Linked DNA regions of Homo sapiens: all the other regions are linked to region 1. Evidence: promoter capture Hi-C in 16 types of primary human blood cells and fetal thymus (Javierre and others, 2016). All regions are on one chromosome and are shown on one strand. The core of a region is centred on a gene start or on the middle of the fragment in contact, and the rest is flanking DNA. Distances in the headings are between cores, read along the strand shown. Region 1 holds the start of TMEM242 (transmembrane protein 242). Region 2 has its middle 67 kb from the start of SNX9. Region 3 overlaps LOC107986663 (a long non-coding RNA gene). Region 4 has its middle 140 kb from the start of SNX9. Region 5 overlaps ZDHHC14 (zDHHC palmitoyltransferase 14). Region 6 overlaps ZDHHC14 (zDHHC palmitoyltransferase 14).

Evidence for each region. The method cuts DNA at HindIII sites, captures the fragments that hold promoters and counts their contacts. A CHiCAGO score of 5 or more calls a contact.
Region 2: a fragment that was not itself captured here is called in contact with the fragment with the promoter of TMEM242 in region 1 in 6 of 17 cell types (total B cells, naive B cells, naive CD8 T cells and 3 more); the score reaches 6.5 in total B cells.
Region 3: a contact is called between a fragment that was not itself captured here and the fragment with the promoter of TMEM242 in region 1, in 1 of 17 cell types (naive B cells). The highest score is 5.4, in naive B cells.
Region 4: a fragment that was not itself captured here is called in contact with the fragment with the promoter of TMEM242 in region 1 in 2 of 17 cell types (naive B cells and total B cells); the score reaches 8.5 in naive B cells.
Region 5: a fragment that was not itself captured here is called in contact with the fragment with the promoter of TMEM242 in region 1 in 6 of 17 cell types (naive B cells, total B cells, M2 macrophages and 3 more); the score reaches 6.8 in naive B cells.
Region 6: a fragment that was not itself captured here is called in contact with the fragment with the promoter of TMEM242 in region 1 in 7 of 17 cell types (megakaryocytes, total CD8 T cells, M0 macrophages and 4 more); the score reaches 7.4 in megakaryocytes.

Annotation. Positions count from the first base shown.
Region 1 is chr6:157,320,566-157,325,700 of GRCh38, forward strand. TMEM242 (transmembrane protein 242) reads right to left here and starts at 2,954. Exons shown (of 4, transcript NM_018452.6): 1 at 2,847-2,954; 2 at 2,140-2,240. The coding sequence starts at 2,934. TMEM242-DT (TMEM242 divergent transcript) reads left to right here and starts at 3,069. Exons shown (of 1, transcript NR_187268.1): 1 at 3,069-3,912. RefSeq lists enhancers at 2,717-3,056, 3,237-3,666. The HindIII fragment of the contact is 1,401 bases long and covers 1,913-3,313 here.
Region 2 is chr6:157,753,700-157,758,834 of GRCh38, forward strand. No RefSeq gene overlaps it. Among named protein-coding and RNA genes, the nearest start is that of SNX9, 67 kb to the right of the region's middle. RefSeq lists a silencer at 1,618-1,912. The HindIII fragment of the contact is 2,142 bases long and covers 1,912-4,053 here.
Region 3 is chr6:157,713,968-157,719,102 of GRCh38, forward strand. It overlaps LOC107986663 (a long non-coding RNA gene), which reads left to right. Exons shown (of 3, transcript XR_001744427.2): 3 at 1-422. Among named protein-coding and RNA genes, the nearest start is that of SNX9, 110 kb to the right of the region's middle. RefSeq lists an enhancer at 1-199. The HindIII fragment of the contact is 762 bases long and covers 2,666-3,427 here.
Region 4 is chr6:157,683,544-157,688,678 of GRCh38, forward strand. No RefSeq gene overlaps it. Among named protein-coding and RNA genes, the nearest start is that of SNX9, 140 kb to the right of the region's middle. The HindIII fragment of the contact is 6,767 bases long and covers 1-5,135 here.
Region 5 is chr6:157,643,090-157,648,224 of GRCh38, forward strand. It overlaps ZDHHC14 (zDHHC palmitoyltransferase 14), which reads left to right. Exons shown (of 9, transcript NM_024630.3): 6 at 2,648-2,750; 7 at 4,170-4,279. Among named protein-coding and RNA genes, the nearest start is that of MIR3692, 120 kb to the left of the region's middle. RefSeq lists enhancers at 2,532-3,032, 4,927-5,135. The HindIII fragment of the contact is 1,192 bases long and covers 1,859-3,050 here.
Region 6 is chr6:157,585,734-157,590,868 of GRCh38, forward strand. All of the region lies in intron 2 of ZDHHC14 (zDHHC palmitoyltransferase 14), which reads left to right. Among named protein-coding and RNA genes, the nearest start is that of MIR3692, 59 kb to the left of the region's middle. The HindIII fragment of the contact is 4,116 bases long and covers 1,121-5,135 here.

The sequences.
Region 1 (5,135 bases), core at 1,704-4,203:
GTTCAAGCAATTCTTGTGCCTCAGCCTCCCAAGTAGCTGGGATTACAGGTGCATGCCACCATGCCCAGCTAATTTTTGTATTTTTAGTAGAGATGGGGTTTCACCGTGTTGCCCAGGCTGGTCTCAAACTCCTGGCCTAAAGTGATCCGCCTCCCTCAGCCTCCCAAAGTGCTGGGATAAAAGTTTTCTAAAATCTAATTTTCACTTGAAAGCTTGAATTTTATCAGTGGCAATAAATACTGACAATTGTTTGCTTGAAAAGACAAGCTCATTTTATTCATTGTTAAGATGTCTGCCAAATATTCTTTCAAGTAAAAATGATATTCTATAGGAAAAAAGTGGCTAGTTCAGCTTGCAATTCAATTGCTTTTCTAGAGAAAAAATCCTACTTCAGTATAAAATAGAAATGCTTTATGTATTTATTTCCCATTTCTTTTTTTTTTTTTCTTTTTTTTTTTTTTGAGACGGAGTCTCGCTCTGTCACCCAGGCTGGAGTGCAGTGGCGAAATCTCGGCTTACTGCAAGCTCCGCCTCCCGGGTTCACGCCATTCTCCTGCCTCAGCCTCCCGAGTAGCTGGGACTACAGGCACCCGCCACCCGCCCAGTTAATTCTTTTGTATTTTTAGTAGAGACGGGGTTTCATCGTGTTAGCAAGGATGGTCTCAGTCTCCTGACCTCATGATCCGCCCGCCTTGGCCTCCCTAAGTGCTGGGATTACAAGCGTGAGCCACCTCGCCCGGCCTTGTATTTCCCATTTCTTTACACAGAATATTAAAATGAGGTTTATTTGAAGGTCATGATTTAATAAAATTAACTATTTTATTTCTTCAACAAGGACACTGTTAAGTAATACTGGCTTTAAAAAATACAGGTACTTTGTAATGAAGGACACAAGGACTTTCACAGTTTGGTGCTACTGCCTTAGACCAAGGTATCAGCAGTTTTACTCTCCATTGCCTCTGTACCATTAGTACAAGCATCTTAGTATCATTATGAAAATAGTTCTGACTTCATGGACCCAAGGATCAAGGATCAGCAGGGTTCTGTGGACTGCAGTTTGAAAACCACTGTTAGACCCCGAAGAGCATCTGTGATGATCAAATCTCAGAATAACAAAATAGGATGGAAAGTTGTGATATGTGTACGTGCGCTCTTCAGCCCCAGAGAATCCCTAGTTTTCATCAGATTATTAAAAAGATCAGTGAGCCAAGGATTAACATAACTTAGGCTTAGAAATCAACCAAAACTCTACTGTTAAGGCACTACTCTGATTTCCACCACAAAATATATTTCTGCTCTGAAAACATTCTATAACATAGAGAGAAAATGACCCACAAGGTCCATAGCAGTGATTTAGGAAGCTCCATATAAGCTTAGAGCATTCAGAGGGGATCCAAGCACACTTTAAACATGGTCTCTTGCCATTATGGTATCGATAAGGCTTAAGTATGATTATTAAAGATAAATGTAAGTGGAAAGGAAACTTGACTTTTTATGATGTTTTACGTAACACTTTTCCTCCATAGCACACATCAAATTGTAATTACACAGTTATTTGTGTGAATATTTATTTATTTATTTTTGAGACAGAGTCTCGCTCTGTCACCCAGGTTGAAGTGCAGTGGTGTTATCTGGGCTCACTACAACCTCAGCCTCCTGGGTTCAAGTGATTCTCCTGCCTCAGCCTCCCGAGTAGCTAGGACTACAGGAGTGCCACACCACACCTGGCTCATTTTTGTATTTTTAGTAGAGATGGGTTTTCGCCATGTTGGCCAGGCTGGTCTCAAACTCCTGACCTCAGGTGATCTGCCCCTCTCGGCTTCCCAAAGTGCTGGGATTACAGGCATGAACCACGATGCCTGGCCCAAATTTAGATTCAAAGTCATGTTGTGAATAGGAAATGTACCAGATAAGCTTTCAAAGTCTTGTTCCGCTAAAATTTAAGAAAGCACATAAGTACATCCTTCTAAATGAAAATAAAGACTTGGTTAATTTGTACATTTCTAGAATCCATGAGCGTATATAAATTCACATCTTAAAGCAATGTGAAAGACCATCAATATTTTATTTTTTCTACGCAAAAGCTGCCATATATTGTAAACAATAACAATGCTATGAATGGATTTCAGTGTCACCAACCTTATTGAACCATTCAGGGCTTTTCTTTTTAGCCAATGATAATGTTGTAATAAATCCAGCTAGCATTCCCGCTGCAGCAACGGTACCAAGGAAAATTCCACCTGCCAAGAGTTTCGGGGAGGAGGGGGGATATTAAAAAAAATTAAATAAAAAGAGGTTAAAAAGATGTACAAAAGTAAGTTTAAGATACTATTCGAGTTACAATCAAAATCACTTTTGAAATTCAAGAAACCATGGCTAAGCAGCTCTTGCTAACAGTAAATGACAGCGGCTGAGAAACACGCGTGACCGCACGACCTCTGGTTCCTTGGGTCATTCCGAATTATTATTCCCGAGCGCAGAGAAAAGGTTCAGCTTCCCTTCCCCTCTCCCCTGGGACCACAGCGTGAAGTTTCTCACGGGGAGGAGAAGAGACGATGGCAATCAGAAAAGGCAAGGCTCTAGAACAATTGCAGAGGTGACGGGGAAATATGGCACGCCCGGGAGAATAGCTCGCGGGATCTGCCCCCCGCCCCGCCCAAGGGGAGACTCCACCCAGTAAGCGACCTACCCTCCCTGGGCCGCCAGACTCCGCGGGCTAAACTCAGGGGCAAGCACAAGCTAAGGGCTCTCAGAGCGGGATGTGTGTGGGAATGCCCGCTCCAGAGCAAGCCAGGGTCCGGGGTTAACTCACCCCGACGCCCGCACCTCACCACAGCACATCTTACCTTTAACCAGGAAAAGCCGGTCATTCGTGGACCCCGGAGCCTCCAGCCCAGAGGCCGGCTGCCCAGTTGCAGCGCCCGCTGTCTCCATGTTTAGGTCGCCTCTAGTGCGTCCGTCCCCAACTGGGCCCGGGTGGAAGCGAGAACCAGGCGGAGGAGAAAGGTTCCGCTACCGCCTCCTCCTGTGCAATCTGAAGAAGGGTCCGGAGTGCGGCCGCTGTCCCCAAACCCTCCTCCCGCGCCGGGGCCGGGAAGACGTGCTGTGCCCAGCCCCAGGGGCGATGCCCTCCAAGGCCGTCTCTTAGGGAGGATCTTTTGATTTCTCCAAGGAGATCATTGCTGGACTTAAGTGATTACTTTGGCTGTTTGAAAGAACGCTCAGCCCCGACTGTAGGAGGCAGTGAGGGTCGCAGATTGCGCCAAGATTCCAGGCCCCGCCTGTGAGACCCTGGAGCTCATTTTCCTGATCAAGCTTACATTGTGTCCAACGATTTGGCCAGCGCTAACACTCCACGATTCTAAAACGCAAGCCTAGGTCTTCTGTCTGTACTTTTCTAGGTAACTTCCCAACAGTGTTGAGGAATAAGTGACAGGCTTTCTCCCTGGAGGAGAGCCAGCCACCCGGTTCTGCGGTGACGGGTACCTCCGCCGCGGTGTGAGTGCTCGGCCTCCGTCGGGAAGTGGAACACTCACAGGATGACCGAATGAAAGTACCACCCCCGAAAGGAGAGCGACGCCCGCTGGAAGCGCTTGCAGAGCTGCCGGCAACGTTGACCGCTAGCAAGCTTGGTCTTCCGCTGGGAGGCTGGTTTGCCCATTCTGTAAATGGCCGTGGAGAGGAGGAGGCTAGTGGTGATAGAAAATCTTTTCAGCCTCTCAGAGAACAATGACATCTTGTAAAATAAGGCGGTCTCTCTGCTATTTGTCCTGCCCCCCATCACCGGAGGGCATGAGTTTCCTGAGGATGGAGATGGGACTCTATGTTCAGTTTATATCCCCCAGCTTTCAGATATTAACTGGTTACCAACATCAAATGCATGTTGGATGAATGAGTAAATGAATGCATCCATTTTTGCGTCAGTGAAGTGCAGTTAATAGCTCAAACCTGGGCTCGGGTCCTAAACCGCTTCTCAGGTGTGTGAACTTGGGGTAACTTAGCCCCTCTATAGCTCAGTTTCCTCACCTGTAAAATTTAAAAACTGGTAGTAGGCCAGGCGCGGTGGTTCACGCCTGTAATCCCAGCACTTTGGGAGGCTGAGGCAGGTGGAGATCAGAAGTTCGAGATCAGCCTGGCCAACATGGTGAAACCCCGTTTCTACTAAAAATACAAAAATTAGCGGAGTCTAATGATGCGGGACTGTAATCCCAGCTACTCGGGAGGCTGAGGCAGGAGAATGGCTTGAACCTGGGAGGGAGAGGTTGCAGTGAGCCGAGATCGAGCCGTTGCACTCCAGCCTGGATGACAAGAGTGAAACTCTGCCATCCACCCCATCCCGCCCCCCCCACACACAAAAACTGATAGTACCTAACTCATAGGATTACTGTGAGAATTAAATGAAGCAACATCTATAAAGAAGTTAGCACAGTGCCTGGCACATATAAATATTCAATACATGTTAGCTCTAACTATTACCACCTTTGATTCCAGTAGCTATTTTGCAGCATTGCCTATGGGGATTTTTAAAAATGATGGATTATCAAGGTCTATCTACCACGGGAGATTAGAGCTCTGAAGGCCCGCGGGTGGCAGGGCAGAATGTAAAAGCTCCGTGGGGTTTCTGATGATAAAAAACTACTGCTCTGTTCAAATTTTTGTGTGGATGAGATCACACAGAATGTATGTGACCTTTGGATTTCCTGGAAACACGTCAGTATCTGAAAGGGCTTTTAAGCTGGTAAATGCTGTGCTAATTTGTTGAAGGACCTATCCTTTTTCCTTCCCCTCATACATAACAGTAACCATAGCTGCTAACATGTATTGAGTGCTTTCTATATATCTGACATTGCACTAAGTGCTTCAAGTACATTATCTCATTTATTCCTCTCCATAAACTCAGAAAGACTAACTTGCTCAAGCTCACACAGCTGTTAAGTGGCAGAGACAGGGCTTAAAAGCAGGTCCTTCCTTATCCACTGTGCCAGTCGTCCTCAAGTGTGAACTTGAATATTGGAATCACCTGGAAGGCTTATTGCACTCAGCTTGCTGGGCCCCATTCCCAGAGTCTGTGACTCAGTGGGGGCTGAGAACGTGTATGTCTAAGTTCCCAGGTGATGCTGTTGCCACGGATTCCA
Region 2 (5,135 bases), core at 1,733-4,232, 430 kb after region 1:
GGGACCACCATAATTGCCTGGGGTCATCAAGATTCTGCTTCTGTAACCGCCCAAGGGGTTCACCTTGCCCCGCTGCCTAGACAGAGCCAATTCATCAAGACACGGGAATTGCAATAGAGAAAGAGTAATATACGCAGAGCCGGCTGTATGGGAGACTGGAGTTTTATTATTACTCAAATCAGTCTCCCTGATCATTGGGGAGCAGAGTTTTTAAAGATAATTTGGTGGGTGGGGGAAAGCCAGTAAGCCAGGAGTACTGGTTGGTCAGAGATGAAATCATGGGGAGTCAAAGCTGTCTTGTGCTGAATCAGTTCCTAGGTGGGAGCCACAAGATCAGGTGAGCCAGTTTATTGATGGGGTGGTGCCAGCTGATCCATCAAGTGCAGGGTCTGCAAATATATCTCAAGCACTGATTTCTAGGAGCAGTTTAGGGAGGGTCAGAATCTTGTAGCCTCCAGCTGCACGACTCCTAAATCATAATTTCTAATCTTGTGGCTAATGTTAGTCCTACAAAGGCAATCTAGTCTCCAAGCAAGAAGGAGGTCTGCTTTGGCAAAGAGCTATTAGTGTCTTTGTTTAAACTATAAACTAAGTTTCTCCCAAAGTTAGTTCAGCTTACGCCCAGGAATGAACACAGACAGCTTGGAGGTGAGAAGCAAGATGCAGTCGGTTAAGTTAGATCTCTCTCACTGTCTCAGTCATAATTTTGCAAAGGCAGTTTCACTTCTAGGACAGAAAATGGGAAGCACAGATAGGATAGAAACCTGGACAAGAGGAGGATTCTACTGGAAGGAAGCAGTTGGGTGGCTGCATTTTTTGGATGCTTCCTGTTTTGAGACATAAAAGTGCTTTGTTGAAGGTGGGTCTGTCTGACGTGCGTCACACATTGTATGAACTGAGCAACATGCATGTTGTGAGCGTGGACATCAGCACGTCCTAAGTCTGCTCTGTGCCTCTGAGTTTCGAGAGCAAAATTTCTGAGTGAGGGCTCTCCCTCTCACCTGTGCAGCTATCACAACCTCAAAGCATCCAAGACTATGGTCGGAATAGCAGTGCAGGTGTTACAGGAAAGGGGTCCTGATCCAGATCCCAAGAGAGGGTTCTTGGATCTTGTGCAAGAAAGAATTCAGGGTGAGTCCATAGAATAAAGTGAAAGCAAGTGTATTAAGAAAGTAAAGGAATAAAGAATGGCTACTCCATAGACAGAGCAGCCCCGAGGGCTGCTGGTTGCCCATTTTTATGGTTGTTTCTTGATGATATGCTAAACAAGGGGTGAATCTCATGTCTCCCCTTTTTAGACCATGCAGGGTAACTTCCTGACATTGCCATGGCACTTGTAAACTGTCATGGTGCAGGTGGGAGTGTAGCAGTGAGGACGACCAGAGGTCACTCTCGTGGCCATCTTGGTCTTGGTGAGATAGGGCCGGCTTCTTTACTGCAACCTGCTTTATCAGCAAGGTCTTTATGACCTGCATCTTGTGCTGACCTCTTATCTCATCTTGTGACTTAGAATGCCTTAACAGTCTGGGAATGCAGCCCAGTAGGTCTCCGCCTCATTTTACCCAGCTCTGTATTCAAGATGGAGTTGCTCTGGTTCGCATGCCTCTGACACCGGGAGAAATTCTCCCTCTCAGCCATCTCTTTCCTAGTGGCCTCTCTCAGCATCATATGTTAGTCACTCCTCCCTTCCTGGTAGGGAAGAGAATGCCTCCGGGTTAGAAAAACACCAGCTGAGAGTTTATAGACATTTCTCTTTGAACATGTGGAACAACAAAGACTACTGATAGACTGTTGGGCATAATTTTAGAATTTGCCTTATTTTGTCAAAGATTAAAGAAAGAAAAGGCCACTTTCCCACTATTCGATTTAACTCAGTCGGATTATACGGTGACAATGTCACTCACTGATTTAAGCTTGAATGTGAGAGATTTAAAAGCAATGGCTTGAAAGGAGTTGTTTTGCATCTTAAAAGAAACCACGACTTCAGAGTGATTTTGATTTTCCATTCCTACAAAGGAAGAAACGAAGCTAAATGCTTTTAATCCTAAAAGTGCCCTTTCAGAATTTCTGGGATCACGGTTGCAAGGCAGAAGTGGAGAACTACCCATTGGATGCCTCTCCAGGAGTCACATCTGTCTCCTCAGACTTTGATCTTCTCAGACATTGCTGGAGAGGCAGGGACAGAAAGTTCAGATGCTACGGAAAGACAGTGTGGGTCAGACCACACAGTGTTCCTTTGAAACTCCTGGCTTACTGGCTTTCCCCCACCCACCCATCAAGTGTGTCCTTTGAGGTGAGACATAACATCAGCTGACTAACAAGATGTTTGCCAGTAATCACATCTGATGACAGTAAATGTCAGTCTCCCAACACAATTTCTATTTTATTTCATTAATACCATCCTCAGTGGTTTGCTTGAAAGGGTTAAATTAGCTAGGCATGGTGGCTCATGCCTGTAATCCCTACACTTTGGGAGGCTGAGGTAAGCAGATCACTTGAGGTCAGGAGTTCAAGACCAGCCTGGGCAACATGGTGAAACCCTGTCTCTACAAAAAATACAAAAATTGGCTGGGCGTGGTGGCAAGTGCCTGTAGACCCAAGTACTTGGGGGGCTGAGGCAGGAGGATTGCTTGAACCCAGGAGGTGGAGGTTGCAGTGAGCTGTGATTGTTCCTCTGCACTCTGCACTCTAGCTGGGCAACAGAGTGAGACTCTGTCTAAAAAAAAAAAAAGAGTTAAATTGGAAAATGTATGTCTTGGTGCTCTGTAAATTGCGAAGCTCTACATAAGTATGATTCCCTGTCTTTATAAATTTGCAATCTGGTGTGCCATGTCTGGGGACAATAACTCCTTCATTGCTCCAGGCACAGAGTTCTGGATTGAGGTCCTGGCTTCTGCTTCTCCAAGATTATCCAAATTTCTTGCTCCTTGAAGGTGGACTTTGAGGACCAGCATCACTTGTGTACCCCATAGCTTCTAATGCAGCAAGCAGGGAATAGACACTCCAGCAAGCAAGTGAATAAGCAAAGAAAACCAGGCCCCCGAGACGCAGGCGGATCCCCAGGCGGATCCCCAGAGGCAACAGAGTCAAATATGCGGGAAAGAATCTGATTCCGGCCAGCAGAGGGCAGGAGCGAGAGGAAACTGGGCATCTCAGCAACAAAGCAGGCTGTGCCAACCTGCGGCCGAGGGCCAGATCGCAAGCCCCGGTGCAGAGAGGACGCCGGGAGAATCCAGCTAATTCTGACAGCCTTTCCCTTGGACTTTAGCTGTAATGTGTGTGTGTTCCATTATCTCACACATCACTGCACTGAATTCCACTTCAACTTCCACCCCCTCCCCCCACCAGGAGCTGGCAGTTAAGATATTTACCAAGATGGTGCTGCCTCTCTAGTAAAACTCAGGAGGATTAAAATAATAATAAACAAACCGAGAGAGGGAGTCCAGAAAAGTGGACTAGGAAGCACAACACAGAAGCAGCTTCAGCACTGGAAAATATTCAGTCGTAAGAATCACCATGCATTCCCTCAGTGCTTGGCAGCCACTTTCTCACTTGAGCCCCATACTCTTTGTATGAGGTATGGGGTGGCTACTTGTGGAGTGCTGTGTCTAAGTCACCCTGCATGGGAGAGGCAGCACCAGGATTCTAACTCAGGATCCTGGGGCCTTATCCACGGCACTCTGTTACCGGGGACACGCTCATTCACTCAACAAACCTTCACGGACTGCCCATCAGTTCTTGTGCCAGGTATACAGAAGGGAAGGACACGGTCCTGTCCTCCAAGAGCTCATCCTCCAAAAGAGCATGGATACTAATAAACAGTCACAGTTTGGTATGACATGGCCATGACAGAGAAGAGTCACCCAACGCAAACTGGGAGGGCCAGTGAACATTTCCAGGAGGAAGTGACAGAAGTTGCCCTGCTGATGACCTCAGTGGCACCATTCATTTTATCACTATGTACCAGAAAATTGTCATAATCTACAGTGACCTCAGATGTGCACAGGGCACCCTCCACCTCTTTGCAATGCCCCTTGCACAGCCATACTGGGAAGCTTGCAGCTGAACCAAGCTTTGAAGGATGACTAGGAGCAGGCAATCAAAGAAAGGAATAGGGGCTAGGGCTGGCGTCGGGTGGAGGGATTCTGGGTGAAGGGGTTGGCACCAGCATAGGGGGTAGGCCTGAGAAATGTCCCCACAGCTGGAGCGTAGGTCTCAGGAGGAATGGTAACAAGAAGACTAAGAAGCAGATGGGGAGGCCAGGAGTTTGAGGAGCTTGGGCAACATAGCAGGACCTCGTCTCCACAAAAAGAAATTAAAAATTAGCCGGCCATGGTGGTGCATGCCTGTAGTCCCACTTACTCAGGAGGCTGAGGCAGGAGGATCACTTGAGCCCAGGAGTTCAAAGTTACAGTGAGGTGTGATCTCACTGCTGCACTCCAGCCTCCAAGGTCTTCAGAGCAAGACCCTATCAAAAAAGAAAAGAAAAGAAAGAAGAAAGGAAGGAAGGAAAGAAGGAAAGAGAAAGAGAGAAAGAAAGAAAGAAAAAAGAGAGGAAGGAAGGAAAAAGAAAAGAAAGAAAAAAGAAGCAGATGAGGCCAGGTCACCTAAAAGGCCTTTTCTACCATGCCAAGGAGGCTAGATGTTACATGGAATGCTATGAGGGTCTTTGGGAGAATATTATACAGGGAAATGGCAATATCATAAATGTGATTTCAGAAATATCATTACTCTAGCAGCATGGAGAATGGATTCGAGAGCGGCAAGTCTGGGGATAGGAGAGCAGTGAGGAGCTTCCCGATGATCCCAGAGCAAAATGACAAGGGCCTGGGGAAAAGACACTCTTGGTGGGGGCAGAGGAAGGGGAGGCTTCCGGAGTTGGGCAGGAAGAAGAACAGATCAAATCTACCAACTAAACAATGGTAAGTGGGAGAGGTCAGGGGTAAGGATGACTGAAGGCTCTGGCTGGGGTCACTGGGCACATGGTGACACCATGTCCCCTGGATAAGCCCCATGAGGGTGGGACTGTGGCTGAGTCACAGCTGTATGGTCAGCACGTGTAGTGACTAGCAGGTAATGGGTGTCTGAGAAGTATTTATGGGGTGAACGCTAGCATGGATGCCTGCGTGAGCAAG
Region 3 (5,135 bases), core at 1,797-4,296, 390 kb after region 1:
CTCATGGACAAGGGCCATTGTCATCACCCATAGCTGTGGTGGTACACAGGATATCTGCTCTGCCAGGAGGGGCAGGGAATCAGCTGTGTCCTGGCCTCTCCCTGTCTCTCATTCTCTAGCCCAGCCATTTACCCCTATTGCTTATGGAATTCAGCCCTGGAAGAGATGTTCTATCTGCCAGGAGCTCCACCAGCTCATGCACAATCTGGCAAAGGTGCCAGAAGACAGAGGTGTCCCCAGAGGGAGCCCTAAGCAACCAGCATCCCAAATGACCACAGATGTCTGCTTCCTGCCTGAGTGAATTTTCCTTTCTCAGAAATGCAATACCTCATTGACTTGTATTATCTTTGGAATGACAATGGCCTAACTAATTGGGAATGCGTGACTTCAATAAACAGTTTCACCAACTGCTCTTTCTAAAACTGTTTTCCAGGTCAACTAGTGTGTGAGAAGCAGTTAATGCTTTGAGTTTTAGGAGAGAACAGGTCCTCTTCATTCTCTGCCCTAAGGTATCTGCCAACATCTCGTAAATCCAGGCTCACATGATAGCCTGGGCCCTAGGATGACCACGGGAATTTATCCCTTGTGTCTACACTGATGGATGTTGGTAATTTTCTGGAATATTGGGCTGAGAGGCATTCTGAGGCCACACCAGAAAGAGCCCTGTGTGTCATTCACAATGTCTGCCATGTGCAGAGGAGAGAAACGGCACAGATGCCACACACTGGATATCCCAAGGCGAAGTGGCCTTCCATATATACCATATATATTCCAAGGTCAAGAAGCAGGTACTGGCCAGGCACAGTGGCTCACGCCTGTAATCCTAGCACTTTGGGAGGCTGAGGCAGGTGGATTTCCTGGGCTCAGAAGTTCGAGACCAGCCTGGGCAACATGGTGAAACCCCATCTCTACTAAAATACAAAAAATTAGCTGGGAGTGGCAGTGTGCACCTGTAGTTCCACCCACTCAGGAGGCTGAGGCAGGAGAATTGCTAGAACCCGGGAGGCAGAGGTTGCAGTGAGCCGAGATTGTGCCACTGCACTCCAGCCTGGGCGACAGAGTGAGACTCCGTCTCTTAAAAAAAAAAAAAAGAAGAAGAAGAAGCAGGTATCTATCTACCAGAAGGACACAGAGTCCCATAGAACCACGCCCTTACCCAGGCTGAAAGAATTGCGGCCGTGAATAAACATTTCCCCTCCCTATGCCTTCCTCACGCTCAGGGACACAATCAAGAACATTTTTCTGAATTAAGCGTTCTTTCTAATTGGATACTGATGGCATAAAGAATGTCAGTTTGGGCTGGGCACAGTGACGCATGCCTGTAATCCCAGCACTTTGGGAGGCCAAGGTGGGTGGATCACATGAGCTCAGGAGTTCAAGACCAGCCTGGGAAACATAGTGAGACCTTGTCTCTACCAAAAATCAAAAGAATTAGCCAGGTGTGGCACACACCTATAGTCCCAGCTCCTTGGGAGGCTGAGGTGGGAGGATTGCTTGAGCTGGGGAGATTGAGGCTATAGTGATGTATCACTGCTATAATCAAGGCTGTAATGATCACGCCATTGCACTCTAGCCAGGGTGACAGAGTGAGACCCTGCCTCAAAAAAAAAAAAAAAAAGAGTAAAGAAAAGAAAAAAAAAAGAAAAGGGATATCAGTTTTATCTGTGTGTGTTTTTGTTATTCTCTTTTATAAAGATTTGGGATACGTGGCCTATAAAAAGAAAAAAAAATCAAGATAAAGCCTAAAAAGTAGGCATTTTGGCTCCTCTGTGTATTTGCCATGGGTTTCATCTGAGAGAAAAGCTCAAATTACATTAAACTCATGCGTAATTTGATGGTGTGCAAACCAAGGAATGAAGAAATCTTGCAACACAGTTTTGTTTTCCAGGGCTGAGTTTCCCAAACAGTGAATTAGAGCAACCCTCATGACGAAATTGGTCAGCCCTGGAATCCCAGCTGATCTGACCCAGGCTCTGCAGGGAGAAGCCTGGCCTCGGAGCAGCAGGGGCGAGGCTCTTTTCTTGCAGCCTGGAAAATAGCCCCACCCAGTCAAAGAACTAGTGAGCCATTTCCCCAAAAAAGGATCCCAGGCTCTCCCCAGTCAGAAGCTTAACTGAAGCCAGAGCTGGGTGGACCCTCGCCCACCAGGAATAGCGGCTATAATGACAAGGGTCATTGTGTGTTTTGCTGCTTAATGAAGCAGAGACATTCCTCAGGCATTTTGTCCTGGACACAGGTAGGAAGGAGGGAAGGCAAGGTAAGAAGAAGGTGGCTAAGGCTGCCTCCAACCCAGACACTAGGAAACATGGGGGAAGAGAGCAGGGGACCCAAATGTTTAAAAAACCATCATGCCGGCCATCACGTTTTAAGCAACTACTTAAGGCCAGGGCTGTCTTAGGTTCTTTTTTCATTTATAGTCACAATAGCCCTAGGTCCACTGGATGGACAAGAAAGCTGTGGCTGCAAGACTGATGCTGCTTGCCCAGGTCTCACACCTGGAGTGGCAGGGCTGGGCTCATGTTGAGGCAGCCACGTTCTTCCTGTGGCACTGGGAGGCGAGCCGTTGTCTGCTACGGGGAGACCAGCAAGAGAGAAGTGGTCAAGGTCTTTTCACAAGGAGGGAGGGATGCTTTTAGCATGAGCGATTTTACTTTGAAAATGTTCAAGCTTATATGGTTTTCTAGGGAGGTGTTTTGTTTTGTTTTTTTCTTAGTGCATTACATTCTAAATTCAATGCCCTGGAAGATACTGAATAGATGGGACAAAATCCATTAGGCTGGATGATTTATGGCTTTTCAGCATTTAGCAGGAGTGGCTTTCAATGTGAAATTGGTTGCGTGCAGCAAACCATTTTAGAAATTTGTCTCACGTTGCCCATAAGTGATTCATGCCATGCTTCCCATGCCTCTTTTTGGGAAAAGGGGAAACAATATCAACACAAAGCAAATTCAGTGTCCAGTACCTCTGTCCTTTGCGAACCCCTGCTCAGCAATCCCATGCCCGTCTGTCATCTCCGCACTTGCTGGGCTGCATTTTACTGGCCAAACAGCAATGGCTGTGACACCTGATCCATCTAGCCAGCGTTCGTCCCTTGGTTTTTTTGGTGTTTGTTTGTTTGTTTTGAGACAGGGTCTTGCTCTGTCACCGAGGCTGGAGTGCAGTGGTGCGATCATAGCTCACTGAAGCCGCAAACTCCTGGCTCAACAATCCTCCCATCTCAGTCCCCCAAGTAGCTGGGACTACAAGCATGCACCACCACACCAGCTAATTTTCATTTTTTGTAGAGATGAGGGTCTGGCTGTATTCCCCAGCCTGGTCTAGAACTCTTGGGCCTCAGACTCCCAAAGTGCTGCTATTACAAGTGTGATCCACCCCACCCAGCCTAGCTAAGTTACTCTTTATCATTCCTGCTCCTTTAAGTGAAAGAAGCTTGTGCTCGGCTGGCCCGCCCTGCTCGGGTCAGAGTGCATGCCTGCTCTACCTCTCTTCCAGCCTGAGGAGGGAGAAGTACCCCCTTCTCCCACACCACAGTGCCCACCCCCTGCTCAGAGCCATGGCTCCACCCTTATTTTATTTACTGCCTGGTGCTCACTAGGTAGGAAGCATCCAGAAGGAAACCAGGTTGTAAGGAACAGTCTTGCCTCTGCAGCTCCTAACACCAAGGTCTTACGCACAGGAAGTGCTCCATAAATGTTTTCTTGAAAAAGTAGGTCACGTGCAAGGAACTGAGGCTGAGCCGGGCGTGTTTAAGGATGGGCCTTCAAAGCATAGCTATAGAAATGCCACTCAGGTTTGGCATGAGCCTCTTATTTTTTTCAAAGTCTTTTTTAGTTTTATTAAATGTTTTATTTTTATGGATTTAGGGGTACAAATGCAGTTGTTTTACATGAATATATTGCACAGTGGTGAAATCGGGGCTTTCAGTATGCTCATTACCCAAATAGTGTACAATGAACCCAAGAGGTGATCCCTCACCCCTCCCACCTGCCCACCATTTGGAGTCTCCAGTGTCTATTATTTCCCTCTGTATGTCTGGGGGTACCTACATATAAGTAAGAAAGTGAAGTTTTGGATTTTCTGTTTCTGGGCCATTTCACTAAGGATAATGGCCCCCAGTTCTATCCATGTTGCTGCAAAAGACAATATTGCATTCTTTTTTATGGCTGAGTTGTATTCCATGATGTATGTATGTACCACTTTTTAATCCAATCATCTGGTGATGGGCACTTGGGTTGATTCCAGGACTTCGCTATTGTGAATACTGCTACAGCTGACAGTCCAGGTGTCTTTTTTATATAATGATTTATTTTCCTTCAGGTATATAACAACCAGTAGTAGGATTGCCAGATCCAAGGGTAGTTCTATTTTTCCTTCTTTGAGAACTCTCCAATTTTCCACAGAGGTTGTACTAACTTCCATTCTCACCAACAGTGTATGAGCGTTTCATTTTTCCCACATCCTTTGGGGTCCTCTTTGAGCTCAGATCCTATATCCCTCTTTCTCTATGCATTCTAAAAAGACACCATGGCAAGAAACATATAACAGGCTTTATCAGCATAGAGAAATTATCCATCTATGGTGAGTGTAGAAGTCTTGAATTAAAAAATAAAAGCTAGATTGGTTTGGTGTAATTCATCCTAGACATGTGTGGCCAACTACTTTACGGAACAAGTGAAACAAACATGAAATTGCTTTATTTTTCTCATAAACGTCTAGTCCCTTAGGGATCCTATTCTGATTCCATCTCTTGGATGACACAGGGTTTTTTTTTTTTCAAAGTCTTGTCCAATCCATTTTAATTCACTTCCATTGCACATCCTCACCTCCTAGCAGAAGGAGTAGTAGGTCCCAGCCTCAGAGCCTTGGTTTGCAGAGGGGTGAGAGTCTCTGCCCAACTCCTTCTTCCTCCTCTCTTTTCTCCAATGTGCTGTGAAGGGAAGAAGGGAGGCAGAGGAGATCAAAGTCTTTATTCACGCAGTGCCACTGGGGACTTCCCTTGGCCATTGTTGCCTGCTGGGTGGCGGGCCCTTTCTGTGGAAGTTTCTTAGGGGCCTCCCCAGCCACAACTCCCTGATGAGGCAGTGTGCTCTGGCCCGGCCCACTCTGACCCCATGCCCAGGTCCTGCCCGCAGGGT
Region 4 (5,135 bases), core at 1,763-4,262, 360 kb after region 1:
GCCTGCGGCATCTGTATCTTCTGAGATCTACTCTGAGGATTGAAAAAAAAAAAATTTTTTTTTTTGTGATGGAGTTTCCCTTTTGCCGTCCAGGCTAAAGTGCAAAGGCCCCGTCTCGGCTCACTGCAACCTCCACCTCCCAGGTTCAAGCAATTCTCCTGCCTCGGCCTCCCGAGTAGCTGGGATTGAAATTTAATCAGTTGGGTCAGTGTGGCAGCTGTGCTAGAAAACACACTTTCTGGAGATAATGAGAACAGATGGCTTCAGAGGCCACCAAGGGTTGTTTCCAACCCATCTTCTCATGGAAATGCCAAATAGGGTTCACCATGTGCCTGGATAACAACCGCAGGTCGGCAGTGCTGAGGCCACGGTGAGGCCCTGTCAGCTGATGCTCTGCTACCTATCAGGACTCCTGGTTCCTTGCCTTCTGCAGCTGTCCTCCTAAGATCTAGGTGAACATTGACTTTATGCAATAAAACGCAATCCCAGAGCATGATGAGCGGTAACTGAACGTGTAAATGTGAAGGGCCCTTTTATGAAGCACAGAAACCACCTCCAGTTCACCTGCAACGCTGTTGTGGATCTCTCTGCCTGTCCCCCAGGCTTCTCAAGGCACCCCTCCCTTCCATAACATACAGGATGTTAACTAGGAACCTCATGAAAGGGAGCCGGTCACCTCTGGACATGTCGGCTCCCCTGTGATGGGAACTTCCTCCTGACCAATGGGGTTCTGTATGTTCTCAGGAACTGACACGTGAGCTTCCAGCTGATGTGGCTGAATTCTGCATTATTAATTTCTGCATTATTAGAAATTCTGCATGATCAGAAAGAAGGGACTGGCATTCATTCCCACCAAACACCTCCTTGTCAGTTCATCCTGCTCAGCATCTGCTCTGAGAGGTCTTCCGCAGGCCCCTTCTTCAGCACCCGTCACCTGCCAGGGAGGAGACGAGTCGCTTGGAAGTGTTTAGGGGGATGGTGCTTTTTCTAAGAGGGGAGCAGAAGAGCTTTTTCTTTTTTTTAACAGAATCTGCTTCCATTTTTGTAACCCATGGTAACAAGCTGAACTACATTCAACGCTCAGTGTTTTATGTAAAAGCCAATGAGTGCCCATATAACCCACAAGAAGACACCAGATATGATCTGCCTCTAGACTGGATGCTGAGGCGGTTTGCAGCAGCAAGCGAGGATGAGGGTGCCCTGGAGCAGAGGCAGGGGAGCAGCAAAGCCAGGACCATGCCCTCAAGTCACCCCAGACTGAGCAATCTCCGCCATGGGGCGCAGGCATACCCTGGGAATCCCACGTGGAGAGTTGCTCCTGACTCACAGGCCTGGGCCACCCCTGACCACGATGGGGAGGATAAGCAGTGATGCCCTCATGTGAATATCTCAGGGTTTTGACATTTTTATTCTAAGAAATAAAAGGAGAAAACTCCCTGCTTAGTCGAGTCACAGAAAGAGCATAATGACTTCTGCACATGCCCATGATCTGTAGACCTCAGCCCAGCCGGCCCTGGCTCTGGATGCTCACACAGGAATCTTGTTCAAGGTCCCTCCAGTGGCAGGAAATCGCTTTAAAGACCACCTAACTGGGTGTCCCACCTCAGATCCATGCCCTCCACGGGTCATAAAACCAGTGTAGTGGGCGCAAACCACTGTCTTCTTTCTAGATAGAAGGGGTGAGAACAGAAGGATGAGAATAGGAAATGCCAAACTGCTTTGCCTGGAACAAGGAGAAACAGGTCCTGGGTCATGACATAGATATATTTTCTTATCATGGTCAAAAAGAAAATCTGAAAAAACTGTTCAGTTCACCCATTCCTGCCCCAGCTTACAAAAGAGAACCCTGGAAACCAGAGAGCTGAGAGGTCATATCCAAGGTCACAGAGGTGGCCGGGACAGAGATGGCACAGAGTGGAGGTCAGCCCTTCTCGAACCATGAGTGATAAAGAACAGTGTTCACTGTTTTAAAAAATTCCTATTCATTGCACATTAGTACTTGTATAAAATATAATTTTTAAATTACTGGGGAAAAAATTTAAATAGGTAACGAAAAGTCCCACTGTTTCATGATTAGATGTATTAGACATACTCTGTCCAATTGCCGTAGCTGTTTCTAAACACATACGCCATCTCTGTATTATCTCATCGGGGACCAGGATCAAACAGTTGCATGGTGCCGAGCTGCACTTGCTTTGAGTAGCCTCGTGTGCAGTGGAGGATTAACCGTGTCCTTAGAGAGGACTGGCTTCTGTCCTCTGCTAGTCATCTTTAAGCCCTTGCAACTGTCTGTGTGGTAAGAGTCTCTCTGCTTATCTGGGGGGTTGGACCGGCCAGGCAGTCTGTGCTGGCCATGTGGGTTATGGCCCCAAGGATCAGCTTGGTCTCTGGAGGGGCTGCAGGCCCAGGCCAGTGGTAGAGATAGCCAACCTGTCCCCATGACCCACCCCAATGAAAACTCCAGGCCTGAGGCTTGGGTGAGCTTTTCTGGTTGGCACTATTCCATGCCTGTTGTCTCATCATTGCAGGCAGAGATGGGCCCTGTCCACACAGCCCCTCTGAGAAAGGACAGCCAGAGGCTCTGCACCGGCATCTCAGACTCCACCCTGTGTGCCTCTTGCTTTGGTTGACTTTGATCTGGATAACTTTCACCGTAATAGAACTGCACATAGAAAGGCTCTTCGGAGTTCTGTGAGTCCTACTAGCCAATCATCAAACTGAGGGTGGTTGTGGGGAGCCCCAACCTTACACTGGGTGTCAGAATTGAGGGTGGCCTTGGGGACTCCTGAACTTTGCACCCTGGTACAGGCAACTGCTCCCAAACTGTGTTCTGAGGGTCCCCTAATGATTCCCCAAATCTGTCATCTCTCCCACCCACAAGCCAGAGCCTCTAAAATGCTGTGGTGCAGACACTGAGGGTCTTGCTCGTAGAGAAGCATGTTATCTGAGGGCTGGGGGGTCGCCAGACATTACAACTTTAGCAACCTTTTTAAAAAATGGTATCAACCAGCAAAGAGCAAGAAGCAGAGGGCAAGTAGGTCTTAGTAGGAAAATGAAGAACAGCTGACAGGATAAATCACTGTAAACATAAAGCTAATTCCCTTAAGTGCCATTCTAGACCTAGACCAATTTGTTAGCTTAAAAAAAAAAAAAAAGAGAGAAGAAAACATGGCTTATACTTTGGTTTGCTCTGAACACTGGCAAATTTAACATACTCAGAAATATTTAAAATTAGGAGTAATAAAGAGAGTTGTTTGGGATTTTTCCTCCTAATTTTCTAGGGAAAATGATAAAATCCTTAGCTAAAGAAATACATTGTTGTCTTTGGGAGGCTGAGGCAGGCGGATCACAAGGTCAAGAGATCCAGACCATCCCAGCCAACATGGTGAAACCCCGTCTCTACTAAGAATACGAAAAAGGCTGGGTGCGGTGGCTCACGCCTGTAATCCCAGCACTTTGGGAGGCCGAGGTGGGCAGATCACGAGTTCAGGAGATCGAGACCATCCTGGCCAACATGATGAAACCCCATCTCTACTAAAAAAATACAAAAAATTAGCTGGGCGTGGTGGCGGGCGCCTGTAGTCCCAGCTACTCAGGAGCCTGAGGCAGGAGAATGGCGTGAACCCAGGAGGCGGAGGTTGCAGTGAGCCGAGATCGCGCCACTGCACTCCAGCCTTGGCGACAGAGGGAGACTCCGTCTCAAAAAAAAAAAAAAAAAAAAAAAAAAAGCTACAAAAAATGGCTGGGCATGGTGGTGTGTGCCTGTAGTCCCAGCTACTTGGGAGGCTGAGGCAGGAGAATCACTTGAACCCAGGAGGCAGAGGTTGCAGTGAGCCGAGATCACGCCACTGCACTCCAGCCTAGGTGATAGAGGGAGACTCTGTCTCAAAAAAGAAAGAAAGAGAGAGAGGGAGGAAGGAAGGAAGGAAGGAAGGAAGGGAGGGAGGGAGGGAGGGAGGGAAAGAAAGAAGGAAATAAAGACATTGTTGCTGAAAAATTTCAAGAGGTGTTGCAGGCTTCAGCAATGTAAGATGTTAACTAAGAGCAAGAAGCAGAGGTGCTTGGGTTTGGGTAAAACCCTGAGCTTGGAGTGGGGGAGGGAGGCGGTCCTGCAGCCTGCTAGGTGTGGGAGCCACACATCCATTCTCTCAACACCACTTCTTGAAAACCGCTCTTGTCTTCTCATTGTTTGAAGACATGGCGGATTGCTTGGTTGTGAACTAAGAGCTAAGCCACACTCAGTGGAGGAAGCCTCGGAACCCTGTGGTTGTGCACACCCAGGAGACCTGTGTGGACACCTGTGTGGCTCCCCTTGCATAAGGAATTGTTTCCAACTCAGGTTCTTCAGGATCTGAAAACTACTGTCGTGAAGGTCACGTGCCAACAACAAGAAACCAGGGACATCCTGTAGGATATGAATGGGCAGTGAGGCGGGACCGCAGGGGGCATTTCAGAACTCCCCACATGACAAGGAAGTAGCTTCTGTGGGCCCCGATCTCCATCACTCTCGGCTTCTCCCACCTCCCCTGTGCCCAAGCCTGTTGGCAGCAGAGCGGAGGCGATGCCTCCAACGTCCTTCAAAGCAGCAGGTCTCAAATGTTGGGGCATGAGAATCACCCGGAGGACTGGAGAGAACACAGGTTGCTGGGCCCACCCACAGAGTTTCTGATTCATAGGTTTGGGATGAGGCCTGAGAATGTGCATTTCTAATACGGCTCCAGGTGAAATCGATGGCACAGGTTTGGGAACATACTTTGAGAACCACCGCTATAAAGAGTGGCAGGTTGGTCTGTTTCCGTGGACAGGGAAAGAGACGGCAGGTAGTCAGAGTGATGGAGTCCCTGGGAAGAGGAGGAAGACAAGGGGGATGGATGCCAAGGCCACTTACATCCATCACCACGTCAGGGCTTTGCACCGAGGTTGTGTAACTGTTGGCCTAGCCAGACCTCACCATGGGGAAACCAAGCAGGAGGAAGACTCCACTTCTCTGTCTTTCTCAGTGGGTACTGAGTAACACAGTGGGCCACGTGTTGGCCAGGTGCTGAGAATCCACAGGTGAACCTGACCCTGTCCCAGACTCCTGACTCCTCAAGGAGCTAAACAGCCTTCAAATTAAAAAGCCTCAAATCAGCAGA
Region 5 (5,135 bases), core at 1,205-3,704, 320 kb after region 1:
TAAGAGGGAGTCATGCTTCTCCCTGGGTCACTCTGAGGTTTAAGCAGAACAGGACCTGACACACCCCAGTGATGCCAGCCATTGTTATGAATGATGATGCTGACGGTTCCTTGAGACCTCCTGAGTCAGCTGGGTCCCAGGGTGTGGGTAGTGCCAGCAGGCTGCATCTTGCATCTCGCATCCTACTTTGGATTCATGTCATTTTGACACAGCTGCAAGCTGACAGTGGAACTGCATTCTGCAATTTACAAAATGTGTCTAAAGCACATGAGATATTAATAGAAAAGCTGGCCGGGCATGGTGGCTCACACCTGTAATCCCAGCACTTTGGGAGGATCACCTGAGGTCAGGAGTCCGAGACCAGCCTGGCCAACATGGTGAAACCCCGTCTCTACTAAAAATACAAAACTTAGCCATGCATGGTGGTGGGCACCTGTAATCCCAGCTACTCGGGAGGCTGAGGCAGCAGAATCACTTGAACCTGGGAGGCGGAGGTTGCAGTGAGCTGAGATCATGCCACTGTACTCCAGCCTGGGCAACAAAAGCAAAACTTCATCTCAAATATATATATATATATATATATATATGCTGTATTTTTTTATTGTTGCTATAAACCTTTAGAATTCTATATCCGCTGGCTATGATGCCTCCCGATGAGGGTAAGGAGCATAGTTGACATTGTCAAAGGAGCTGCAGCCACTTTCAGTCTGGGATTGTCACTGCTCGTACATGCCAGGTTTCATATGGTTCATACATAGGAATGTTATATGCATTTTGACTTTGCCATCATTCTACCTGGGTCGTAAACTCTTGGTGACACATAAGTATTTCTAGGATTGCAGTTTGGTTCTTCATGTATTATTCAGTAAATAAATCTGGTTCTGTTCTTGATTCTTTTCTACCCTGGCTATTTCTTGTTTCCGTTCCATGTGTCCCCTCCTCTTTCTGTCTCTTGTCTTCCTTGTAGCTGATCCAAACCCATCACTAGTGTCTAATGTCATCTCCCTCTCACACACCCCAGCTTTCCTGACTCAGTCTTCCCACTGGCTCCCGCATTGTGTTCCCTGGACTCTACTTCACCTCTTCTTTCCAGCCAGTGCATGGCCTGAATCCCAGGGGAGTTGCCTCCCAAGTCTGTCCCCTCCTGGCAGGGGGGATGTGGGTGGAGAGAGGGGCCTCTTTAGCCCCGTTCTGTGGGAAGGCAGTTGAGAATGAGACCATCTTTGCTGCCTGGGCCACCATCCATGTGTCCCCATGTGCACACAGAGCCCCCACTGTAGCCATTTGCCCAGCAGGGGTTGCCTAGGCTGGCAGCAGCTGTGGGTAGGGGGTCTGCCTTCCTGTGTCTCTCTGGTTCCCTACCACTCCCCGCTACCGTCTCCTTCTAGAGCAGACCCAGTGGTTTAGTGCGATGTTGAAAGTCAGTCAACAGGCAGAAGCCCATTCACTCCTGTTTTGTGTGCAGCCTTGTATGCCCAGATGGTGGCATCGGTTAACCATGGCACAGCAGACCACGGCACCGCACTGGGTAATGTGCTCAGCCCTCTGGTCTAAAGATGAATTATCTCCAGCCTGGAGAAGATCATCACTGACATGTTCCAGCATGATGTATATGGCATTCATCCTCGGAAACATTAGGAGAGCAGGCGCGTTTCTTTCTCCATCCTGTAATGTATCGATAGCGGATGCCAGATGTATGTGTAAACTCCCAGACCCAGGATGAATGGATTTTTCCCCCTGAGAAATATCTGTATCCTGTAAATAGAATGTTATAAACATTTGTGGGACAGAAAAAGTCTCTGGCCTTTTCACATTGCCACACTCTCGGGTGATGGATCTGATCTGCTGAAGAGCACCAAGCTTTTTCCCTTTGTGTTGGACACGTCTTGTGGAACTCTTGACTTCCTCTCTCTCTATGTCCTGCGAGAACTCGTGGTTCCCAGCTGCCTATCAAGCAGCTGAGGATGGCCTTATAGGTCAGGGGTTGGCTGAAGGGCTGAGAAAACTCCCCCAGGTAAAAATACCCCTCACCCTGACGTCACTCCGAGAAATCCCACCGCCGGTTCAGGGGCTTATTTTTCCTTCTTCCCCTTCTCTGTAAGCAGAGAAGAGGCCGTCCACTAAAGCAGAGGGCTTTCTGGGCCTCAGAAGCCATTCTCCTCAGGGGAGACGCCTGTTGGCACTGCAGTCCTCAGCATTCAGAAGCCAAAATTAGAGTCTGTGATTGATGTGCGAGTCAATATGTCGTCCTTTCACCCAGAGCCTGAGCTGCAGCCAACTCAAACCAGTGTGCTTCCTGATCAGGATGCCACAGTCGCTGGCTCCACAGTGAGGCACAGAAAAAGGTGAAGTTCAAGTAGAAGTCAGAGGAAAGAAGTGAGTAGGTGATGCCCAGGAAACCCTCCAGGCATCACGGAGCCACAGAGGCTGCTCCACGCCGGGGCAGGTGACACCCCCTGCCCTGACGGAGGCCTCCATCTGGTTAGACGAAATTCCCGGAAGAGCAGGAAGCAAGGCAAGGCCGGGTGAGAGAGAGGCCAGCAACTAGAGAGAGGCCTGTGCCCGGGGGTGTTTCGGTTCCAGGCCTCCATCACATCCACTTCTTGCGCGGTCCCTCACTTCCGCTTGCCTCCTTGACTCGCATCACCGTCCTGGAGGCTGTGGTGTGCTTCTTCTCTGTCTGGTCCATCGTTGGCCTCTCAGGATTCCACACCTACTTGATCAGCTCCAACCAGACAACAAATGAGGACGTAAGTTCCTGACCACACGGGACACGGGCGTGTTCTTGGGTTTTGGGCAATGGAGGAGAAAAAGGAAAGAAAAGGTTGAGCCCAGCTTTTCCCATACATCCCGTTCCAGATGTGAGCCCTTGGGAACAGAGACGGTGCCGTGGAAACTTCTCCACCTGCCGTTCTGCACGTTTCTCTTCTGGGAATCTCCACGTTCTCTGTTTTTCCGACCACATCCATTAGTTACTAAGATTGGCCAAGCAACACCCATTTCTGGCCCTGAAGAGAGTGTTCTTTGTATTCCTTTGAAATGGTTTCGTAAGCTTCTTATCACACTTCCCCTGGTAGAGACCATGGCGGGCCAACATCTTGGAGTGAACGTTTGAGTCTGCCTTTCATATTTAATGTCTCTGTGGGAGGAAATTGCCCTGACCCAAAATTTAACTTTTTTATTCAGGATTATCTGCCTGCACTTAATACAGATGGAGAGGAAGTATGAAAATAGGAAACAAGGCCGGGCGCGGTGGCTCATGCCTGTAATCCCAGCACTTCGGGAGGCCGAGGCAGGCGGATCACGAGGTCAGGAGATCGAGGCCATCCCGGCTAACACAGTGAAATCCCGTCTCCACTAAAAATACAAAAAAATGAGCCGGGTGTGGTGGCAGGCGCTTGTAATCCCAGCTATTCAGGAGGCTGAGACCAGAGAATCGCTTGAACCCAGGAGGCAGAGGTTGCAGTGAGCTGAGATAGCGCCACTGCACTCCAGCCTGGGTGACAGAGCGACACTCCATCTCAAAAAAAAAAAAAAAAAAGAGGAAACAAAATGTTAGAGAATGTTTCCAGAGCAGCGTGGTCCTCTTTGCTCTTTATACTTAGATTTTGATAGAAGTCTCTATCCACACTTGAATTAAATGTCTCAGGATAGGTCCAGTTACCTTAAACAAAAGCTTGAGAAAATAGGTTGTGATAAGACACATGAGATAAGAGAATATTAATACAGTTATTTGTACTTGGTAGCTACAAATATTAGAATATGCAAAACAGACCATTTTGGTCACAAGAAGAGGCTGAATTATTTCAGTCTGTAAATTAGCAATTAGGGGAACCATTTCACCTACCATTCATTTAATTATTATTTAGGGCACTAAATGTGAGTATGAAAAAAATCTCTGCTGGCTTATATGAGATGGCCTTTTAGTACCATGTGGTACAAATAAAAGATGACTGTCCCTGAGAATGTTATTCTTTCCCTATTCTAACCTGCTGTTTTAGGACATTTCCAAGTTTGGAGTAAATGCCCGTTTTCTTTAAGAAAAATACCTCCATTTCTTTGGATTAAAGATGATTTGCATTCTTTATGAGCCTCTCATGGTCCAGCTCACCTCAACTGTGCGTTGGTGTGGAAGATATTGCTTGTTACTGACTTTCCTTTTCTTTCAGATTAAAGGATCCTGGTCAAATAAAAGAGGTAAAGAAAATTACAATCCCTACAGCTACGGAAATATCTTTACCAACTGCTGTGTTGCCCTGTGTGGGCCCATCTCACCAAGGTAAGACTCAGGACGCATCGTGCTCTTCAACAGACCTTGGAAAACCGAATGCCTCGGCCGTTAGCACAGGCCGCCCGCCCTGGTGGAATGGGTCGCCGCCACCACGTGACCACTTTGTGCCGCGTGGATGTGGCCTTCGTGAAATCGAGATCTGGCTGTTTGTCGTGTCACACTTCACACCTTTTTTGATCTTCAATTGAATCTGTGTCTGATTGGGGGGAAATTTCCTAAAGCCCAAAATAGAGAGACAGATGCCTGTGGCCCTGCTAATGACTGAGGCCCTGCTAATGACTGAAGGTGCGTGCAGGGAGCTGTGGTTAGCATCGTCAAGGAGACAGGACACATGTGCAGGAAGGAAGCAGCCAGAAGTCTGAGGAAACCAGTTTCGAAAGTTGATTTGCACACAATAGAAATGTTCATAGGGAGAAAGCCACATGGGCCGCAGTCGTTGATACTGTGGTCATGGTAATAATGACGATGACACGAACCATGGCAGTAGCTGACCTTTATTGAATCTGTGTTAAGCTCTGCTCTAAGTTCTTTATCTGCATTAGCCTTTCACAAGCTCACTCTGTACCTATAGGTAGGCACCGTTATATCCCATTCTATGGATGAGGAAAGTGAGGCACAGAGTTTAAATAATGTGCCCAAGATCACACAGCAAGTAAATGCCGGCTAGTCAGGACACACACCCAGGCCACCCAATGTCAGAGCCAGTATGTGCCCACTGAGGCACGCTGCCTCCAAGTCAGAGTGTACAAGTTCAAAATACAGATTCTTTGTGAGTTACACCTATGGAGAATATTTTCAACTGATAAATCAAACCATGATCAACAAATAGATATTGAGCAAATCT
Region 6 (5,135 bases), core at 1,929-4,428, 270 kb after region 1:
CACAGCTGGCCTTCTCAGCCGGCCCTTTTTGGGGGTGCTACCTGGCCATGCGAGGTTGGCTCTGGATCAGCAGCAGCTTGTGGATAAGTTTTGAAAGAGTCAGATCCACAGAGCACCTTGGAAAGGTGTCCTCTGCAAGTGAGGGGCTATAGGCACAAGAGTGGCCTGCCTGGTGGACAGCGTTGCAGCACTTGAGGGCCTGTGGCTGTGATTCCCAGGCAGGGTGGAGGTGCGGGAGCATGGCAGTCCTCCATCTTGGGCATCTCCTATGTGCTAGACTCTCTGCTGGATGATGGGGACTTGAAAGTGGATAGGCCGTGGTCACTGCCCTGGAGCAGCAGGAAGATCTGGAAACAAATCCTCCTGACATCATCGGTACTGGGTCTTCCCTCTGGCCTGTAAACACCACCAGCAGAGAAGAAGTCTGAGTTCCTGCTGTGTCCCCAGCTCAGAGCCCAGGGCTGGCCCCCAGTAGAAGCACAATACAGATCTAGTGGCTGGATAAATAAAACAAGGCAGGCGCAGTGAGAGCCCAAAGGAGGAAACAAGTAACTCTGCTTGCAAAGTGTTTTCACAAGAGAAGCTGGAACTGGCCCTCAAAGGATAGGATTATCTGCGCAGACAGCAGGAGAGGGAATCCCGAGCAGAGAAAATATCACGTGCAAATGCCTGGAAGTAGAAAACAGCATTGCCCGCTCAGGGAAACCCAAGGAGGCCACCGTGTTTTGAGCATAGGCTCCATGGAAGATCGTGCAAGGAGAGAGAAGGTTCATGGATTGTGTGCTGTATGGGAGGGCCTGAGTTTCTTGATGGGACTTGCATTTAGAAAGCTGACTCTTTAAGGGCCAGGAGAACAGATCAGATCAGAATGGGTGGCAAGACGGGCTCAAGACTTGCTGTGCTCATCAGACAGCCCAGCAGAGCCCTCCCAGGACCCCAGCGGCCCTCGGCAACCCCTGGTGCAGCACCGGCTTATAGTAAATCCTTCATAAATATTGGTTGACTTTTTTCATGGCATCGCTGGGCCCTGAATCCAGGTCTTCTGATCCTTCCATTTCTTTTACATAAAGAGCTCTCCAAATATTTAGTCAAAGAGTTTTGGGTTTCGGTTTAATTCTTAAGCTTCAGTTTACTATGTCTTTTGAATTCTAGCTTTCAGCATTTCACCTCTTTGTAACAGAGGTTCAATCTTTTAAAAAATGCACTTTGGAACTAAAGATCAATAGAGTTTATCTTCAGGAGTGTCAGCAAATACTCACTTTATCAAGTCATTGCTACTCAGAACTAGGCTATTTAAATAGTTGTAGTGTTGATACGTTTGTCATTCCTGCATTTTAAAATATTCACCTTCACAATTCAGTTTCTAAACTTTTCTACTGAAATTAACACAAATGTTTGACTGAGTTCGTATTTTATAAAAAGATATCAGGTCTAGTTTTTCTACCCATGTTTGCAGGAGTAAATAGAGGCAATAGATTTCACAGCTGACATTAGGATTATTATTAATCTAGGCCTCAGTGGCACCCAGCTGGCACCCATAGAGACCTGACCTTATCTTTGATGGATTCAAAGCCAGTGATTTCTATCCAGTGCTCAGGGGAAGCACACAGCCGTGCCATCTCTTTGTTCTCTCCTTATTGCAGAATCAGTTGCAAGGCCTCCCTCTTCTTAAGGCCCCTGCTTTTGGAGCTCAGCACCTCTCCAGATGCCTGTGACATTAGTGCCATTTGATGGGGCAGCCACCTGGGGTGCCAGGCAGATGTGGCACCTGCCAAAAGAGGGTATCCTGCTTGGCAGGGCAAGGCCACCCAGAGTCCTTGGACTGGCTCCACAGCTGTTCAGTTATTCTAAGCAGAAGGTTTGGGCCTCAGGAAGAGAGAAGTAGGAGACCTGCTTCTTCCTCCTGCCATTGCCCCGCCCTGCCCTCCACACTGCCTGCTCTCCCTCGAACCTGGAACTTTAATTTTCCATGAATAATTCATGGCCAGTAGCAGTTCAAAGCACTCTCCTTAACTCTGGGATTGTACTTTCACAAACACCAAAGCCTTAGGCTAAAGGGCTATAGCAGCTTTCCAGACCTCTGACAGCCATTTAAAGAAGACCAAGGCTGGGCACAGTGGCTCATGCCTGTAACCACTTTGGGAGACCAAGGTAGGAGGATCACTAGCTTGAGGCCAGTTGCTTGAGACCAGCCTGAGCAACATAGTGAGACCTTGTCTCTATAAAAAATTTAAAATTAGGCTGGGTACTGTGACTCATGCCTGTGATCCCAGCACTTTAGGAGGCCAAGGCAGGCGGGCCACCTGAGGTCAGGAGTTTGAGACCAGCCTGGCCAACATATAGTGAAACCCTGTCTCTACTAAAAAAAACACAAAAATTAGCTGGGCGTGGTGGTGCACACCTGTAGTCCCAGCTACTTGGGAAGCTGAGGCAGGAGAATGGCTTGAATCTGGGGAGGCAGAGGTTGCAGTGAGCCAAGATCACGCCACTGCACTCCAGCCTGGGTGACACAGCAAGACTCCATCTCTCAAATAAATAAATATATAAATAAATAAATAATTTAAAAAATTTAAAAATTAGCCAGGCATGGTGGTGAATACCTATAGTCCCAGCAGCTTGGGAGGCTGAGGTGGGAGGATCACCTGAGCCTGGGAGGTCAAGGCTACAGTGAGCTATGATAGCACCACTGCACTCCAGCCAGGGTGACAGAGTGAGACTATTTCTAAAAATTAAAAAATATACATTTTTTAAAGAAGACTGCAGGGAGGGGCATTCCTTTTCGAGCCCCTGAATCATGACATGCGAATCATGGGTACTGTCAGTGAGTGACAGCAGCCCTGCTTGGGGGCAGAATGGCACAGCTCTCCAGATACCCTGAGCTGTTCTAAATCACCAAGTGCTCTGCGTGAAAACGCTTGGGTGTGGGTGTGTTCTGTGATGTGGCCCCTCACCTGACTAAGCTGCGTTCTCTAAGGGTAGCTCTTTATCATACAAGTGAGTGTATTTGAGTACATAATAAAGAGGCACATAGGAATGTGTGGACTGGGGAGTATTTACTGGCACCCCACAGTGGGGTTCTCAAACCTGAAAGTTTCAATCACTGGGGAATCTCGGTGAAATGCAGATTCCCATTCCATAGTTGGGACAAGCCAAGAATCTGCTTATGTGCTAGGCTGTCAGATGATATGGATGCTGGTGGACCACTCTTGGAGCAGGCCTTCTCATCTTTGGCTGCAGATTCCCATCTGTATTAGTCTATTTTCACATTGCTATAAAGAACTACCTGAGGCTGGGTAATTTATAAAGAAAAGAGGTTTTATTGGCTCATGGTTCCACAGGCTGTATAGGAAGCATGGCTGAGGAGGCCTCAGGAAACTTACAATCATGGAGGAAGGAAAAGAGAAAGGAAGGAAAAGAGGAAGGTCTTAAATGGCCAGAGCAGGAGGAAGAGGGTGCAAGGGGAGGTGCTACACCTTTTAAACAATGAGATCTCATGATAACTCACTATCAGAAGAACAGCAAGGGAGAAATCCACCCCCATGATCCAGTAACCTCCCACCAGGCCCCTCCTCTGACATTGGGGATTACAATTCAACATAAGATCTGGGCAGGGATACAAAACCAAACTATATCAACATCTCGGAGGAGTTTTTAGACATCTCAATGCTTGATATGGTTTGGCTGTGTCCCCATCCAAATCTCATCTTGAATTGTGGTTCCCATAATCCCCATGTGTCATGGGAGGGACCCAGTGGGAGGTAATTGAATCATGGGGGTGGTTACCTCCATGCTATTCTCATGATAGTGAGTGAGTTCTCATGAGATATTTGCTTGGCACTTCTCCTTCCTGCTGCCATGTGAAGAAGGATGTGTTTGCTTCCCCTTCTGCCATGATTGTGAGTTTCCTGAGGCCTCCCCAGCCCTTCAGAACTGTGAGTCAATTAAACCTCTTTCCTTTATAAATTACCCAGTCTCAGATATGTCCTTATAGTAGCATGAAAATGGACTAATACAGTATATTGGTATTGGGTAGTGGGGCACTGCTATAAAGATACCTGAAAATGTGGAAGCGACTTTGGAAGTGGGTAACAGGGAGAGGTTGGAACAGTTTGGAAGGCTCAGAAGAAGATAGGAAGATGTGGGAAAGTTTGGAACTTCCTAGAGACTTGTTGAATGGCTTTGACCAAAATGCTGATAGTGATGTGTACAATGAAGTCCAGGCTGAGGTGGTCTCAGACGGAGATGAGAAACTTCTTGGAAACAGGAATAAAGGTGACTCTTGTTATGATATAGCAAAGAGACTGGTGGCATTTTGCCCTGCCCTAGAGATTTGTGGAACTTGAGAGAGATGATTTACGGTACTGGTGGAAGAAATTTCTAAGCAGCAAAGCATTTGAGAGGTGACAGAGCATAAACGTTTGGAAAATTTGTAGCCAGATCATGCAGCAGAAAAGAAAAACCCATTTTCTGGGGAGAAATTCAAGCTGACAGCAGAAATTTACATAAGAAACAAGGAGCTGAATGTTAATCACCAAGACAATGGGGAAAATGTCTCCAGAGCATGTCAGAGACCTTCATGGCAGCCCCTCCCATCACAGGCCCAGAGGTCTAGGAGGAAAAAATGGTTTCCTGGGTCAGGTCCAGGGCCCCCTGCTGTGTGCAGCCTATGGACTCTAACCCAGCCACTCCAGCCATGGTTAAAAGGGGCCAAGGTTCAGCTCAGGCCATGGCTTCAGAGGGTGCAAGCCCCAAGCCTTGGTAGCTTCCATGTGGTGTTGGTCCTGTAGGTGCACAGAAGACAATAATTGAGGTTTGGGAATCTCCACCTAGATTTCAGAGGATGTATGGAAATGCCTGGATGTCTAGGCAGAAGTTTTCTGCAGGGGTGGAACCCTCATGGAGTACCTCTGTTAGGGCAGTGCAGAAGGGAAATGTGGGGTCAGAGCCCCCACATAGAGCCCCCACATAGAGTCCCCACTGGGGCACTGCCTAGTGGAGCTGTGAGAAGAGGGCCACCATCCTCCAGACCCCAGAATGGTAGATCCACTGACATCTTGCACTGTGTGCCCAGAAACGCTGAAGACATTCAACTCCAGCCGTGAAAGCAGTTGGGAGGGGGGTTGTACCCTGCAAAG